2 separate regions of the Homo sapiens genome follow, and region 2 is linked to region 1. The links are contacts of gene promoters, found by promoter capture Hi-C in blood cells and fetal thymus (Javierre and others, 2016). All regions are on one chromosome and are shown on one strand. Each heading gives the region's core, a stretch centred on a gene start or on the middle of the fragment in contact. The rest is flanking DNA. Distances are from core to core; before and after follow the strand shown. Region 1 holds the start of NEUROD4 (neuronal differentiation 4). Region 2 has its middle 52 kb from the start of NEUROD4.

What was found. Contacts are between HindIII fragments. The CHiCAGO score rates a contact against its expected background, and 5 or more counts as called.
Region 2: a contact is called between a fragment that was not itself captured here and the fragment with the promoter of NEUROD4 in region 1, in 1 of 17 cell types (neutrophils). The highest score is 5.5, in neutrophils.

The regions. Positions count from the first base shown.
Region 1 is chr12:55,016,700-55,024,302 of GRCh38, reverse strand. It overlaps NEUROD4 (neuronal differentiation 4), which reads right to left and starts at 4,329. Exons shown (of 2, transcript NM_021191.3): 1 at 3,990-4,329. LOC101927484 (a long non-coding RNA gene) reads left to right here. Exons shown (of 5, transcript XR_245987.4): 5 at 48-815. The HindIII fragment of the contact is 8,784 bases long and covers 1-5,084 here.
Region 2 is chr12:55,067,849-55,075,451 of GRCh38, reverse strand. No RefSeq gene overlaps it. Among named protein-coding and RNA genes, the nearest start is that of NEUROD4, 52 kb to the right of the region's middle. RefSeq lists a silencer at 6,713-7,007 and an enhancer at 6,583-7,133. The HindIII fragment of the contact is 7,255 bases long and covers 114-7,368 here.

The DNA.
Region 1 (7,603 bases), core at 3,080-5,579:
ATCTTAGGTTTTATGTTTTTATTTTCCTTGTTCTTCTTCTATCACAGCTATAGGAAGAAAGAAAGGCACTTTGGCTTCAGGAGATGTACAGCAATAGAAATGAGTCAACAGGAGTGATCATCATCCAAGAGATCATCATCTCTTCCTCATCCTCCCCCTTTTTCTCCTTATCCTCATTCTCTTATCTTCATTATCATTATGATCACTGGCTCATACTGAGATGCATGAAAAGGAGAGAAGGAAGGAAAGAAGGAAGGTGCAAGAGAGGAGAGTCTCCTGAATTGTCCCTGGATCTGAATACCATCCTAGGTGGGGGATTTAGCCTTTTTCACCATCCCTACCTCTATACCTCTGGACTCTTTTTAAGATCTGTCAATATTCACACACATCAAAATAAGTGAGATTGGGAGGATAGAATAGACCATCTTTTACTTCTAACATATTTAATGGTTTCTGTAAGAGTCAAGGAGCTGCTTTCAAATCAGCTTGTTGGTGGGTATAAAGGAAAAGAATCAACTGGCTTTGGCCAAAGTAATGAAAAGGTCAACCAGTTTTCTTTCACCTTTGTTCTCTTACTAATCATGGGAAGGACACAGATGGCTCCAGTTTAACTTCCTCTGTTCTCACAGGTGCCGGTCCATTAACTTCCAAGAGAATCCCATGAGTATATAGTATGGTTTCAAAAGAATGGAAGCTAGAATAACACAAATGTGAACTCTAGTCCCAATTCTTCTAATTCCTGGGTTGTTGATCCCAAACACATTATATAAAGTTATCTGTTCTTCCATTTCCTCTAATAAAATAAGGCTAACATACAGGTTATGTGATTCTTGTAAGAGAAAAATATAATAAAAAATTTTATAGCTGTAAATGCTATAAAACATCTATACATTTATTTCCTGTTTATTCTTGGGTTTTCTTATCTAATCTATTCACACACGTTTGCTTATTCAAAAATAAAAATTATTTCTCACAGATGAATAATAAAACAGACTGTATCAACTAGTGTGTCTCTTATTATCTGGATATTACCTCTGATTGGTTTAGAAAATCATCTGACAGTTACTCAGTAGCCTATCATTTTTCCCATGGTGGGATAGATAGCACAGACTCCAGTGTCAGATTACCTGGATTCAAACTTCAGCTCCACTACTCACTAGATACATGAATTTAGGCCAGTTTCATAACCCTTATCTGCCTCAGTCTCCTTCTCCTTAAAATGAGAATAATAACAGTCCTACCTCATAGGATTATTAGGAGCATAAAATGAGTTGATATATTTGAAGCATTTTGAATAGTGTCATACAACATGAATTTCATGTTAAGTTTTAGGTATTGTTCTCCTAAACATCACCATGAATTTTTCTGGCCACTTGGACAAGAATAGGTATAATTAGAATCTGTTATTAATATTGATTTTGCATCAACAAAAGCCAATGGCTTCATTTCAACATCTATTTGAAAAAATTCCCCAATACACCTACTCCTCCAGTCTCCTATTGAAACTGAAATCAAAGTTTCTGTTCTGTAGCAAGAGGTAAGGAAACCAAGCCCTATCAACTGCCTCCACTGAGTTGACTAGAACTCTTCCATCATATTCAAGATGGAAGTTAGCTCCCAAACTTTCACTCTGTTTTATAATTGGGAGAAAACAGTTAGCTTGACACTCCTATTCAATCACATACATTTTCAGATTCATGAACCTTCTGTATTGCGAATACAATTTTTCCCACCAAAACCAAATGGCAGAGCTCTGAGGATAATATGCAGTGTCTATCAGAGAGAAGTGAAAGCAGTGAAAGCCAAGACTCCTGAAATATAAAGAAAAATGTTTATCTGACTTTTTTCACCTAAATATTTTCAATGCATCAAAAAGGTTAACAGGAAAAAAATAGAAACATCTAGTTTTAAATTTGAGTGTTGAAAATATGTGTACTGTGATCACACATACTGATCACAACAAAAGTTGTGATCAAAGAAACCAAGGGTTGTCTCCAGAACAGGTGCCTAAATCTAATGTTGCTTTCAGCCTGTTAAGGAACCATCTCACAGGTGTACTGAAAGAAGCATGGAACCAAGACTGTTTCATCATTCACTCATTAAAGGAGCACAGAAAAATTATTGTAATTATTGTAATTTTTGTACCCTTAGGGCAAAATGAAAATAAGATTGTCTTTGCTACATCATTTAGAAGTTTTCATGAAAAATAAGGAGATAATGCAAGCACAAGTACTTTGTAAAATTGTTATGCCAATGTGAGGGTTGGCAATTGTTTTACAGAAGCTGTTTGAGAAAGTCTGTAGCACTATCTCACAAAGCATCATGATATACCATCTTAAGGTTGCCTCAATTCCTAGGAAAGAAATTAGCTCACAAATTACATAGGAAATAGGCTCGAACATGACAAAAATCAATGAATACTGGCTCAAGGGGCAGAATCTGGCCCTTCCCTACACATACACATAAACACATTCTGGTCTTATAAAGTCCATTTTTAGCCATTTGGTATTTGGATTTTCTTTTATACCTACACAATATAACAGAATTTTCCTCGTTCTATAGGGTCTTTCAGTGAAATTTCAAGTTTGGCCAATTCTCTTTAATTCAAAATATTTCTCATATTTTTAAAAATTTTAAATCTGTTCTAGCAAAGTGTTTGCTTAGGCAATGATTGTTACTACTGAATATTTTTACTACTAGGGCCAAAGTCGTTAAGCATTACTACTATGTGAAGCTATCCTGGAATTCTTTCTACACTTTTACAAATTTTTTATTTATTGTGGAGATATTTCAACTAATTAATAGGTAAGGGGAACTCACATGTGGATTTGTGGTAGTTAGATGGTGTCTTTCCTCTTAAAAGCTGGTGATAATCTCTTTACCTCCTGATCCGATGACTAAATACAACAGAAAGGGGGCTGTCCAGCCCAGTTTCTAGGAAATCTAAGAACTAAATAGACTAAATTCTTTTCCCAGAGTTGCACAGTCTTGGCACTAAAAAGACAGAATCCAAATCAGGATGTTCACAAGTTGTACTGCTTGGAAAAAGCCAGTAGTTTGCTCTATGCTCTTCTTTTCTACTCTACTATTTTCCCCTTTATTAATATATGTGCACATGTATGTACATGCATGCACATACACACACATTTTGTCCAGCAAAGCCATGTAATACTTCAGGTGCCATTGCCTCAGATCTTAATAGTTAACAGAAGTTATTCAGTCCCTTATTTTTCCCTGCATGTTCTTCAGCATTTCACCTCTGCTTCCTCTGTCAAAAAAATGGGGGTGGGTATTTTACATTTAATTAGTATTTTCTGAGTATACTTTTTTTGCGGGCAAATGATGAGTGTGAAGCAGAGAAAGGAAAAATATACTTGGACAATCTTTTTCTTCTAATTTCCCATCTGAAAGAGCTGAGGAAAAGGAAATTTCCCCCACCCTGTGCCAACTATTCAAGCATTTTTAGTAAACAAAATAGTTAATGGTGAGAATCTACCCCGAGGATTTTCCACAATCTTCTCTGATTCCTCATTCTGTTTTCCTTTCCCTGCCTCCCCCTCCGTCCTTGCATAGCCCTAAAATGCTGTGAGCAGAGTGGTGGATTGGGTCAATTCTTCCAACCTACTTGCTGGGCCACCTTGGAAAAGCAGTTAAACTTTTCGACATTTTCACCACTAACAAAATGAAAGAGTGGCTTTGACAGGAATTGGGGGAGATCATCTGTATTCTTCACTTTATTAAAATGATTGTGAGTGTCTATGTGTTTCACTTTGGGTGGCAAGTGCTATAAAATTTAATAAAATTATTTAAAATGTTTATATTTGTCCCTAAGTGTTCCAACTCACTAGCTTCTACATTCCAAGTTTCCTAAATCTCACTTCCTCCTGCCTTACCCAGAAGAGACTTTCCTCACCCCAACTGCTCCTCTAGGTGAGTGGGAACTTCCCACAGAAACTTTAGCCCCCTTACCACCCCAACCACTGGCTCACCTCGGTCACTGGCCGTTCCTGGAGTGAACTCTGTGAATCTGCGTCTTAGAGGACAGTCAGAGAAGCCAAGTCTCCCTGACCATCCAGATGGTAGAAGAGACGCTTTCAGCGATCCATGTCAAACCCGGTTGTTACCTCTTAGAGATTCCACCGGGTCTGGTTTCTCTGCCTGCTCCTTATTCTACTCCTTCCTTGGAGTTCCGTATGCTCCTCAAGGACGCCTTCGGGCTGATCTCTCCGCTGCAGCCAGTTTAGTCGCTCTTCAGTACCTCCTCTCCCTGGTTAGCTCCCCGGAGAGGAGCTTTCAGGACCACAAGCCTCTGGGCAGCTCCTGCTCTCTGGCCGGAGCCTCTGACTTGCTGCAGTTTTGATTGCTCTCCCAGCTGACCAGGGAGGAGTGATGTTGCCCAGAGTCTAACTCCTCCCTTTTCCCCAGCCGAAAGACACGCCCACTTGAAAGGCTCCTCCGGCCAGGTCCAGTTTTGCCGCCCGTTTGTTTGTTTAAATAGAGATGGGGGTTGGTGGAAGGGGAGCAGGGGAGGAGAGTTGCTGAAGTTAAGGAGTAAAGAAAAAGAGGACTGGAAACCTTTGTGATTAAAAAGATAAGAAATGGGAGCGGAGTAGTGTGGACAGAATGGAGAAAGAAAATTGGGGATAGACTTGGAGAGAGAGCTAAAAAGGGCAGATGACGCTGCTGACCCACGTCTGAAAAGAATCAAAAGGTGAGAAAGATGCGTGTCAAGGACACAGCATCAGTGGCTGCTTCCTTACACATGTGGACTGGGGTCTTTGGCTTATAAACTTCAGCGTTCTAAAAGTAGAAGGAAGAAGTATGTCTCTCCCACCTTTTCAGCACGTCAAAGCTACTCTCATTAAAACTTTTAATTTGTGAATTTAGGTGAAGCTATATTTGTTGTGCTATTCTTTCAACTTTCTGATCACTTTAAATTTATAAAAACAAAAAGGAAATTAATAAAATCCTTCATTTTAAGGGCAGTTAGTTCCTTGAGTTACAAACTGAGATCTACTATTGTTTTTCAAAAATACATCATTAAGCATTCACGTAGAAAAAGTCCACCTGAGTAGTAATAAGCTTAGAAGAAGAGAAGGCTCATAATAATTCCTAAAACTCCTTTGGTATTAGGAGGTTGAATTAAATTGCTAGAAGACAGAAAGAAAACTACATCTGGAATAATTTAAGTATATAGATATTCATACTATCTTATTTAAAACTACACCAAGGAAAAATAAATGATTGTGAACTTAAGATACCAAAGATTTTCTAATCATCTTGTGTTTCCAAGAAGGAAAAAGAAAGGTGCTCAGATTAAGCAATTGGCTGAATGATCTTGAATAAGTCAACTTCACTCTGGGCATCAGTTTTCATATCTGTAAAATGAGTTTTTCCATCAGTAGCCTGATAGAGTTACGAATCCAAGTTCAACTTCTTTTAGAAATTGACTTGAAGGATAATTCCTCAGGCGTTTTGGCAAAAGGCAAAACATTTATACAATCTGAAAAGAAACCAGAGTATCCCCAGCTTTTTGAGAATCGCGTGGTCTAACAACATAACTAGCACATGCGTCAAACAGAAATGAAAAACTATTAATATGCCTGTGTGCAAGGAAAACTGTAGAGGGCTGAAACAAAAGATAGTTTCACTGCTCATAAAGTTGAAAAGAGTATCTTAAGTTTGAAAATAGTTATTTTTAATTCTGATATGTGTCATATGACTCTTGTTTTTCACAGAAAACAAGAAAATAAAAATTAACACTTTTTTCAGTTTTCATGGGAAGTTATTTATTTTCAGCAGCTCTTTAATCTCTTACTTATCTTTATTTGTATCCCTATCCAGAAAAATATCTGCTCAGGAAAATAAACTTCATTTTCAGAATAATTAAACAACACATGATGGGAATAGCAGATCTCTAAAAAACAAATCAGAATTCACTCCTCGGCCACAGGAAATTTATCTATGAGGTAATTTATGTCTAGGATAGAGGTGCTTAATCATTGTTCAATGAGCGCTTACTGAATGAATTGATCTCCTGCTTTGTGTCTTCAAAGCCCTGTCCATGGATATTTAGAAGTTGATGGCACTGATGCCTGTGAAATTTTCAGGGGCAGGGAGTAATAGCAGATTAGCAGAAAGGTGAACATATTGAGACAAAGATGAGGGTGGGGATAAAACATTCTGCAGGATTCCTTGCTTTCTCTGACAGATGTAAGGGACTGGACACAATAGGATTAGCCTTCAAAATACATTCGTGTGTGTGTGTGTATGTGAGTGCACACACACACATACACAAGCGTACATGAACGTGCACACCCCTGAAGAATGGGGAGGGAGTTGTGAATGCCAAATTTTCTTTAAGAGCTGCTTTTTGCAGAGGGATGGGTTGAATCTATTTCATCAGGGTCACCCTCGTCACAACTCATTGACAGTTGTACAGTTGGCTGTTCAACTTTGAGAGGGCAGGAAGGGGCAGGAGGGGTGTGTGCTGTCAGCAAAGGAAAAGGGGTGGTGACTGCCCTAGGAAAGGAGAATACAAGGCATTTGCATGCATTCTCCTCCCCCCACATGGTTCCTGGGCCAGAGGGCCAATCCCCAGCCCTTCCTTCTTTCTCTGCTGCTTTTTATAAAGCTCTGAGCTAACCTGTAAGAACCATCTGCTGAGTGGGGAAAAGGAGACCAGTACTCAGTTGCTGGCCCACAGGCCTAACGCCCGGGAGCCATTGAAGCAGAGAGAGGGGAGGCAACAGGCAGATTTATGAGCAGCAATCTGTTCCCCCCCTCCCCCAAGGACCCTTTGCCAGGAGACAGCCTGATAATCCATCAACCCCACTAATGAATTAATTAGTATTCCCAGTAATCCTGACCCCCAAAGGAGACCTGCCTGTGGGCCCCTAAGCGGGGTAGAAACTGCCTTCTTCAGTCAGACACTGAAGACCTGAAACCAATGTCTGACATTAGGCCCCAGGGTGCTAAGCCTCAAGCCACGGATCCTGTTGCTGATGGTCCCCAGATGTCTCTCCTTCTCACCTTCCCATCGGAGATCACTAGCTTCTGCTGAATTAAAATCAAATGCGACCAACAAATGGAGTCCAGGGACATATATCAGGAACTGTAGCGAGCAAGAAGGTGGACTTCCAAGGAAGAAATGATTCGGGCTGCCCATCTTCAGGTTAGACTTGAGCAGAACCTAAAGTTGCTCTCCAAGTTTTAGGCACTGGGGCCTGGGATGGGGTTGGGATGGGGTGAGGGCTGGGGGAGAAGGTAAATAAAACATAGTCCTTGACCTCGAGAAGTTCAGCGTTCCAGTAGGGAAATAATACAGGTTCAAAAATAATTGTGAAACAGGTTAAAACAAAAAGTGATTTGTGACATGAACCTCTCCTGCATAACGACTAGAGAAAAACACAGAGGTGTCAGTTGGGTTTATGAATAGTTTGGAGAATAGCATCAGGGAGATTCAATAACCTTCCCTTACAGTAGCAAAGTGAAGTGCTTCATTCTTTTCAAAAACTCCGTAGTGAAGTGGGGTCGGGGAAAAGCTTAGGACTAAGGAATCCTGGGCTCTAAATCTTAGTCTGCCTCTGTGTGGCTGTGATGA
Region 2 (7,603 bases), core at 2,492-4,991, 52 kb before region 1:
AATCATTTTATTAATTGAATCCAAGGTCTGTTATTCATGTTAAATATATCCTTTAGAAGTAATATTAGAAGAGGTGGCTAAATAATTTTGTCAATTGAGATTGCCCAGAAGCTTCTTCAGTTTTAGAAGTTGGAGAAGATGAGTTAAACCCAATAAAAGTCACTGGTTAGTGATTTATAGACAATGTCAAGTAGTCTATGAATCATTTAGGGGGTTTGAATTGGAACTCTACATATAGAAAAAACATGTCTCCTAGTCTCCCAATCACTAGTGCTCTTAGAACTTCTCTTTCATCATTTAACAATTGCAACTACAACACAAAAACTTTCTTCATTTTCAGTCCTATCCAACAAACCCAGAATCTCCCCACTGGGATTTATTATATTCATACTGTTTCTAGGCAGAAAATAGTTTTCATTAAGATGTAAATTTAATGAATTTCTGAGCAACTTGTTTCTGCTCCATTTGGCATGGTGCCTTGCCGGCTTAGTCCAGGTGCTTCCTAATCGTCATAAAAGTGGAAACAAAGAGCCGAAGACCAGCTTTAAGCAAATGTTTTCTGTTAGACTTTTCAACCTGCCAATAACTTTTTCATGTTGTTTGCTTTTTATCAAAGCAATTGGGAAAAAAAATAGAATTCCATGATCTTTAGATGAATAGATGTTTATTTTAAATTTAGGAAGTCCCTCACCATCTCATTATTTTTATCCCTAGCTCAAACATGAATGGAAACATGCTTAAGAACAGCCACGCTGATTGAAAATTTGTAAGAATTATACATAAAACATACATATGTGAACAATTTCAAACAAAAAGGGAACACAGAAGACTAAACATGACACTTAAGGAGAAAATACAGTGACATGTTATAGAAAAAATTAGAAATATCTACAATACAGAGAGATCTGGAAAACCCTTCAGAAATAAACAGCAGATGATCTTAAAAGAAGAATGATGTTGCCATTTGATTTCTTAAAGGTTGCACTGAAAGAATTGAGTCAAGAAGTTAGAATCTAAAATTTTATAACGTAAGTGTAAGGATATCATAAAAATATTCTCAGATAAACAAAGCCTAAGAAACTGTACCACAATAAATGTAACTTTTAAGAATTCTTGGAAGAAGCATAAAGCAGTAGAATAACATAATGAATAAGTTTAAAATCCAGCTCCTCCATTTGATAGCTCTGTCATTGATGACCTCAGGTAAGACATTTAACCTCCTTAAACTTTAATTTCGTCATCTTTAAAGCAGGAACAATGATAGTACATATCCCAGAGGACTATGATGATTAAATAGATTAATGTGGCCAGGCGCAGTGGCTCATGCCTGTAATACCAGCACTTTGGGAGGCCAGGGTGGGTGGATCACCTGAGGTCAGAAGTTCGAGACCAGCCTGCCCAATACGGCGAAACCCCGACTCTACTAAAAATACCAAAATTAGCCAGGCGTGGTGGCATGCTCCTGTAGTCCCAGCTACTTGGGAGGCTGAGACAGGAGAATTTTTTGAACCCAGGAGGTGGAGGTTGCAGTGAACTGAGATCACGCCACTGCAGTCCAGTCTGGGCGACAGAGCAAGACTCCATCTCAAAAATAAATAAATAAATAAATAAATAAATAAATAAATAAGATTAATGTATTTCATACTTTTATAAGACTACAGAAACAACAGTAAGCATTCTATTAGTGTTGTCTACTAAAACCTTTTGACATCATATTCAATGGTGAAAAGAAGATAAAGGCATACAGATTGGTCAAGAAGAAGTTTAAATTTCCTTATTCAAAATTACATAATTTTGCATATAGAAAATCCTAAGGATCTAGCCCCCTTACCACCCTCAAAAAACTGCTAAAACCGAAAGATAAATCTAAAAAAATCTTGGGATACAAAATTAATATATAAAAATCAATTTATTACTATATACTAACAACAGAAATTGTAAAATTAAATTTATTTTAATATTAAAAGTACCATTTATAATATCAAAATAAAGGTATAAATTTTATCAAGGATGTTTAATATTTCTACATTTAAAACTACAAAATATTGCTACAAAAAAATCTAAGTAAATGAAGATATCCTAAGGATTCCAAATTTTAAAAGAATGTGTTCCTTTGGGTGAAAATAACAACATATTGTAGGAAAATAAATCAGAGATTTTCCTAGTAAACTAGTGCATGCGGACAACTCAAACTACCGCAAGGTGGCAGCACATCCCCATGATAGCACCATCAATACTTGGCCTAGTCAGTGGTGAAAAGTCATGATGGGCTTCTGAGAGGATGTTCCTATTAAATCCTAAGTATTCGATCTACAAAGAACTAGGATCTTTTGATCAATTGAGCCCACATTTTCCTTCAGAGTCCAAAGAGGAAACTGAATTTCTGAAAATGTAGGCGACTTATCAAAGGTCAAAAATAGTTCATGACAGAACCAGGATTAGAACCTGATCTTTTAGTTTCCAGGGCAGCTCCTTCACAGTATTATAAACATTCACTGTGGCCTTTCTCTATCCCAGATCCTCTAGGGACTGTTATTTCTAAGAGAAATGATACGGTGGAATAACAAAATATGTAAACTAAGTAGTGAGCAAAATTTTTGCTTAGGTCCTCCTGATAGAGGCAGGAGGCAGAGAAATTCTAGGCAGACGGGGCGGGTCCCCGGTGAAAACCCACCTTCATGCCAAAGTGGCCTGAGACCTGCAGCCCAAAGTGAGAACTTCCATTCCTCTTTGCCCACTCTCTCCCAATTGGCTCTTTCTGAGTAATGTCTTTTTACCAGTCAAACATGGCCTTTTCCAAAACTACCTATGGCCTGCCCCCACTCCCATCCTGTGCTTATAAAGACCCCAGACTCAGTCAGTAGAGAAGAGAGGCAGCTTGACTTCACTGAGGTGGCTTGACTTCAGGGAATAGCTGGCTGGACTTCGTGAAAGAGCCAGCCGGACTTTGGGGGAAAGACTACCTGCTTGTCCCATCCCCTGTCCAGCTCCCCTGTCCACTGAGAACAATTTCCATCACTTAATAAAATTCTCCGCCTTCACCATCCTTCAAGGCTAACCTCATTCTTCTTGTCCAGCATCCAAGAGCTCAGAACCCACTGAGTGCAGGTACCCAAAAAAGGCTGCCACATTGGCTCTTTGCCCTTGCCAGCAGAGGGCAGCCACCCCACACAATGAGGCAACGGGCCAACCGAGCTGCTAAGACACTGCTGTCTGCAGATGGCAGAGCTATGAGAGCACTGCAAACATGCCCTCTGGGGTTTTGGGGTGGCAGGCACCCCCACCTGGGCACCACTGCAGGCTCCACACTGAGCTTGCTCCTGCTGGTGCCCAAAGCAGCTGGCTGGATCCCACTCACTTACTCACATGCTCTCTCTCACAAAGGGTTGAGTGTGGTGGGCCAAGTAAACAGGGCACCCCTGTCATTAGTCTGACAAAGGGGCTGAGAAAAATCCTGCATCACTCCAGACCTTTTTCTAGTTCCAGCTCTCCCTGACCTAACACTCTCCTTTCAGTATCTTCCCATTTCCTACCCCCTTTCCCACAACAAAATAGGAGATATTCTGATATCAAGAGCCTTATTCGTATTTTGGCTGAACTTCATTTGTTTATTTTGATGATAAAAGGAATGGATATCTCTCACGTTTAAGTAATATTGGGCTATAGAAGTAGATAAACCTTTTACTTGACCTTAAAGTCAGATTCTCATTAAAGCTGAACCCAGTCAGGTAACTAAATATTCTGGTTTTCCTGGGCCTGAGAGGTTTCTCAGTTCTAAAACAGGGAAAGTTCTGAGGTGGGCAACCAGGATGGTTGGTCACCCTAGCTCATTTATGTGAAACTGGGGTTTGTGGTGTGATGTACAACATGATGGACCAGACAAAACAAAATGCATCTGACCATCCCTTTTTGTACCTCTTGCCATCTCTCACTTCACTTCAGCCAACATATATAGGACTACTAAATGTAAGGCTCTGCTATGGTTTGAATGTTTTTGTCTACTCCAAACTCATGTGTTGGAAACTTAATCATCAATGTAACAGTGTTGGGAGGTGGCACCAAATGGGAGGTGTTTAGGTCATGAGGGCTCAGTCCTAATGAATGAATTAATGTTGCAATAAAGGAGCTTTTGGAAGTGGGTTCCCCTTCTGCTCTTCTGCCATGTGAGGAACAGTGTTCCTCCCCTCTGGAGGATGCAGCATTCAAGGCACCATCTTGGAAGCAGACACCAAGCCTGCCAGTGTCTTGACCTTGGACATCCCAGTCTCCAGAACTGTAAGAAATAAATTTCTCTTCTTAATAAGTTTCCCCAGAATACACTATAATGTATTCTGTTACAGCAACAAAAAACTAATCAAGACACACACTGTGCTAGGCCACAGGAATTCAAGGATGAAATATAGTATCCCTACTCTGAGTAGGGTAGCAAATTTTTGCACAAATATGATTCCTGGACAAAATTTTTACTAAATCTGCTTTAGGAAAATTCTCATATCAACCTGGCTTATTTTACAAATACAGTAAATCAAATATGTATATACCCTTTTGTGCCTATTTCTAACAAAACATAGTCATTTTTTTCAAAACTGTAGATAGCTTGTGATAATAGCTAACTTCTGCCAACTCCTTACCAATTTTCTGGAATTCTGCTCTCTGTCTGACTCTAATAACTCTTTGAGGGAAAATCTGTTATTGTCCTCAGGCTTCAAACCAGTAAATTGAGGACTAAATAAGAAAAGTACAATTAATCAAGGACAACATCATACAAATAACAGTGGGAAAAGTAGGTTTCAAGCCCAAATCTGTTGACTCTAAAGCCTATGCCCTCACCCACTCCACTGTACCACTTCTCATCTAGAGGGGATCTTGTTCTGTCAAAAACTTTCTGCATTAATGAAAATGTCTTATATCTGCTCTTTCCAGTATAGAGTAGCCCCTAGCCACACATGACCATTGAACATATGAAATATTGACTTATGTGACTGAGGGACTGAATTTTTAACTTTATTTCATTTTAATTAATTTAAATAGTCACATAGGACTAATGGCTACTGTATTGGACAGCACAGGCCTGGGTTTGTATTATGTCATGTGAATGTAACAGAGTAGATCAATGTAGTGTAACGTAAAAAGAGTGGACATTAGAATCAGACTGTTCAGCCTGCTATTCGTGCCCACACCACTCAACCACCGTGTGAATTAGAGTAACATTTTTTTCTTTAAATCTCTCTGAGACTCAGTTGCCTCATCTATAAAATGAGAATAATTATAATACTACTAGATAGTTGCTGTAAGTTTTAAAGAGATATATACAGTATTTGGCACTAATAATCAATAAACATGTTTCATTTGCCCCTTAAAGATTTAAATGGTTGAGAAGGAAATTGCATGAGCTTTATTTGTCTAATATTTCTTCAAATATTTGACAATCTAAGTCAGAAAATTCTTCTGTATCTCTCTCATTTTGATATAAGTTGGTTTCTTTCATTATATTTTCTCTCTAGAATTGTTGTTGGGATTAAAGTCAGAATGATAAACGTAAAATAGCCCACAGTTATCTCAGTCACCAGCACGTAATTAAGCTCAGTAAGTATTTTTCCTCTCCAGTCCTTCAGCTAGGACTCAGAAAAATTTGTTTTTGAAAAAAAATCCACAAACATCCTGGATGCAGTGGTCAGGGGGAACTTACCGCTACTTCTTCGACGTCAAAGGATAACTGAATTCTCACTTTTGGCTCAGGCATGTGCAAGAAACAGGCACTATACCATCATTTCATGGGTGAGTCTATATTACGATGGTTGAAGACAGTGTAATCTAATGGACGGTGCCAGGAGGGTCATGAGAAGAAGCCAGGCTCTAGTTTTATTTCAATGCTGACCAGTTCTGTGACAAGTCGCTTTCTCATTCAGTACCTCAGATTTCCCAGCTAGGAAGTGGGTAGAATCACCTCAGATCTCCCTCAGAATTCTGTTAGGATGAAGATCCTGAATAATATGAAACTTCTCAGTAGTATAAACTACATTTTCATGTTAACAGTATCTCTTGACCATCTACCATACCACTATGAATTATATAAATAATATTTTAAAAACACTTTTATGAACTGTAAAGCATTAATCATTACGTAAAACAGAAAAAATGTCATCCTCATTTTAATAATTTGGAAATGGATTTTCAACAAATTGATTTGTCCAAGCCATACTCAAGTCCAATATCCTAGACCACACAACCACTAACTTGATCACACTCTTGCAGAGAAAGAGGCTAAAACTTGATCCATGGTGTATTTAAAGAAATTCATAGGCTGGGCCCAGTGGCTCACACCTGTAATCCCAGCACTTTGGGAGGCCAAGGCAGGAGGATCACTTGAAGTCAGGAGTTCAAGACCACCCTGGACAACATAATGAAATCCCATCTCTACTAAAAATACAAAACTTAGCCAGGCATGGTGGTACACGCCTGTAATCTCAGCTACTCAGGAGGCTGAGGCAAGAGAATCACTTGAACCCAGGAGGTGGAGGTTGCAGTGAGCTGAGATCGCACCACTGCACTCCAGCCTGGACGACAAAGAGAGACTCAGTCTAAAAAATTAAAATAAAATAAAATAATTGGTAGGTTTAGCCTCTGGTGAAAGCGGTATGATTGGCGCTTCAGAAGAACTTGCTTGAATGAAAAGTGTTACAAGACGCTGGAATCAGCTGACTGGGGACAGGTCTGGGGAGTGTGGGCTGGATGGCTGGGCCTTGGTGCTGCTCCTCCCTGTTCTCTCTCCCAGTAGCCTGTGCAGAAGGTGATTGAGGAACAGCCTTTCCAAGCTGCAGTTTTCCTTGTCAGCCACTAGGTGGATACCCAGTGTAATCCTGAGGAGCTAATGGAAATGGCTTAGAGGGTTTAGGATTTCCAGAGTTAATGGCCCCATGGGGAGGGACTAGGCCAGGGCTGCAGGCGAGTGAACAGACTCTCAACAGCACGATTAAGCCCTGAGATTTAATCATTTGCTCAGAAGTAGACATGAAAACAAAATCATAGCAGTCCCCCAATCCTGTCCACACCCTGGTCATTCCTGCCACTGCAGGATCCTTCTTTGGACTTTCAGGGTTCAAATCTCAGTCCCCCTTAGCATCCTTCCAGCCCTGGAACACCAGCATTCTAGAAATCATGACCCAGAGCTCAAGTGTCAGGTTAGGGCCTAGCCCTGGGTGTGAGAGGTGTTGACCCCTCTCAGAACCTGTTAAATCAGAAAAGAACTCTGTCTGAAGTTACAAACGGAGGCTGACCAGGAAGAGACAGCAGGGACAAGTAACCTGTGCAGAGGCTTCTGAGGATGGTGAAGAGAGTGAAAAATAAGTCTTTGGCAAGGAAGAAGCTTTTTATTTTGCACTTGTTTCCCTAATCCAAATTGCAAAAGCCAGTCTATAAAATAACCCCTGGTATGTATACCCCCGTTGGGTCTTTTCTTCTACCCAGTAGGAAGGTCTGACACACGCCCCTCCTGGATGCCCCTCAATGACTCCTTCCTCAAACTGTTGCTGCTGCGGAGCCATCTGTCACCCTCCCAGCGTCTGCAGCCCTCTCTGGAAAGCTCAGCTCCCAGCAAGCTGAG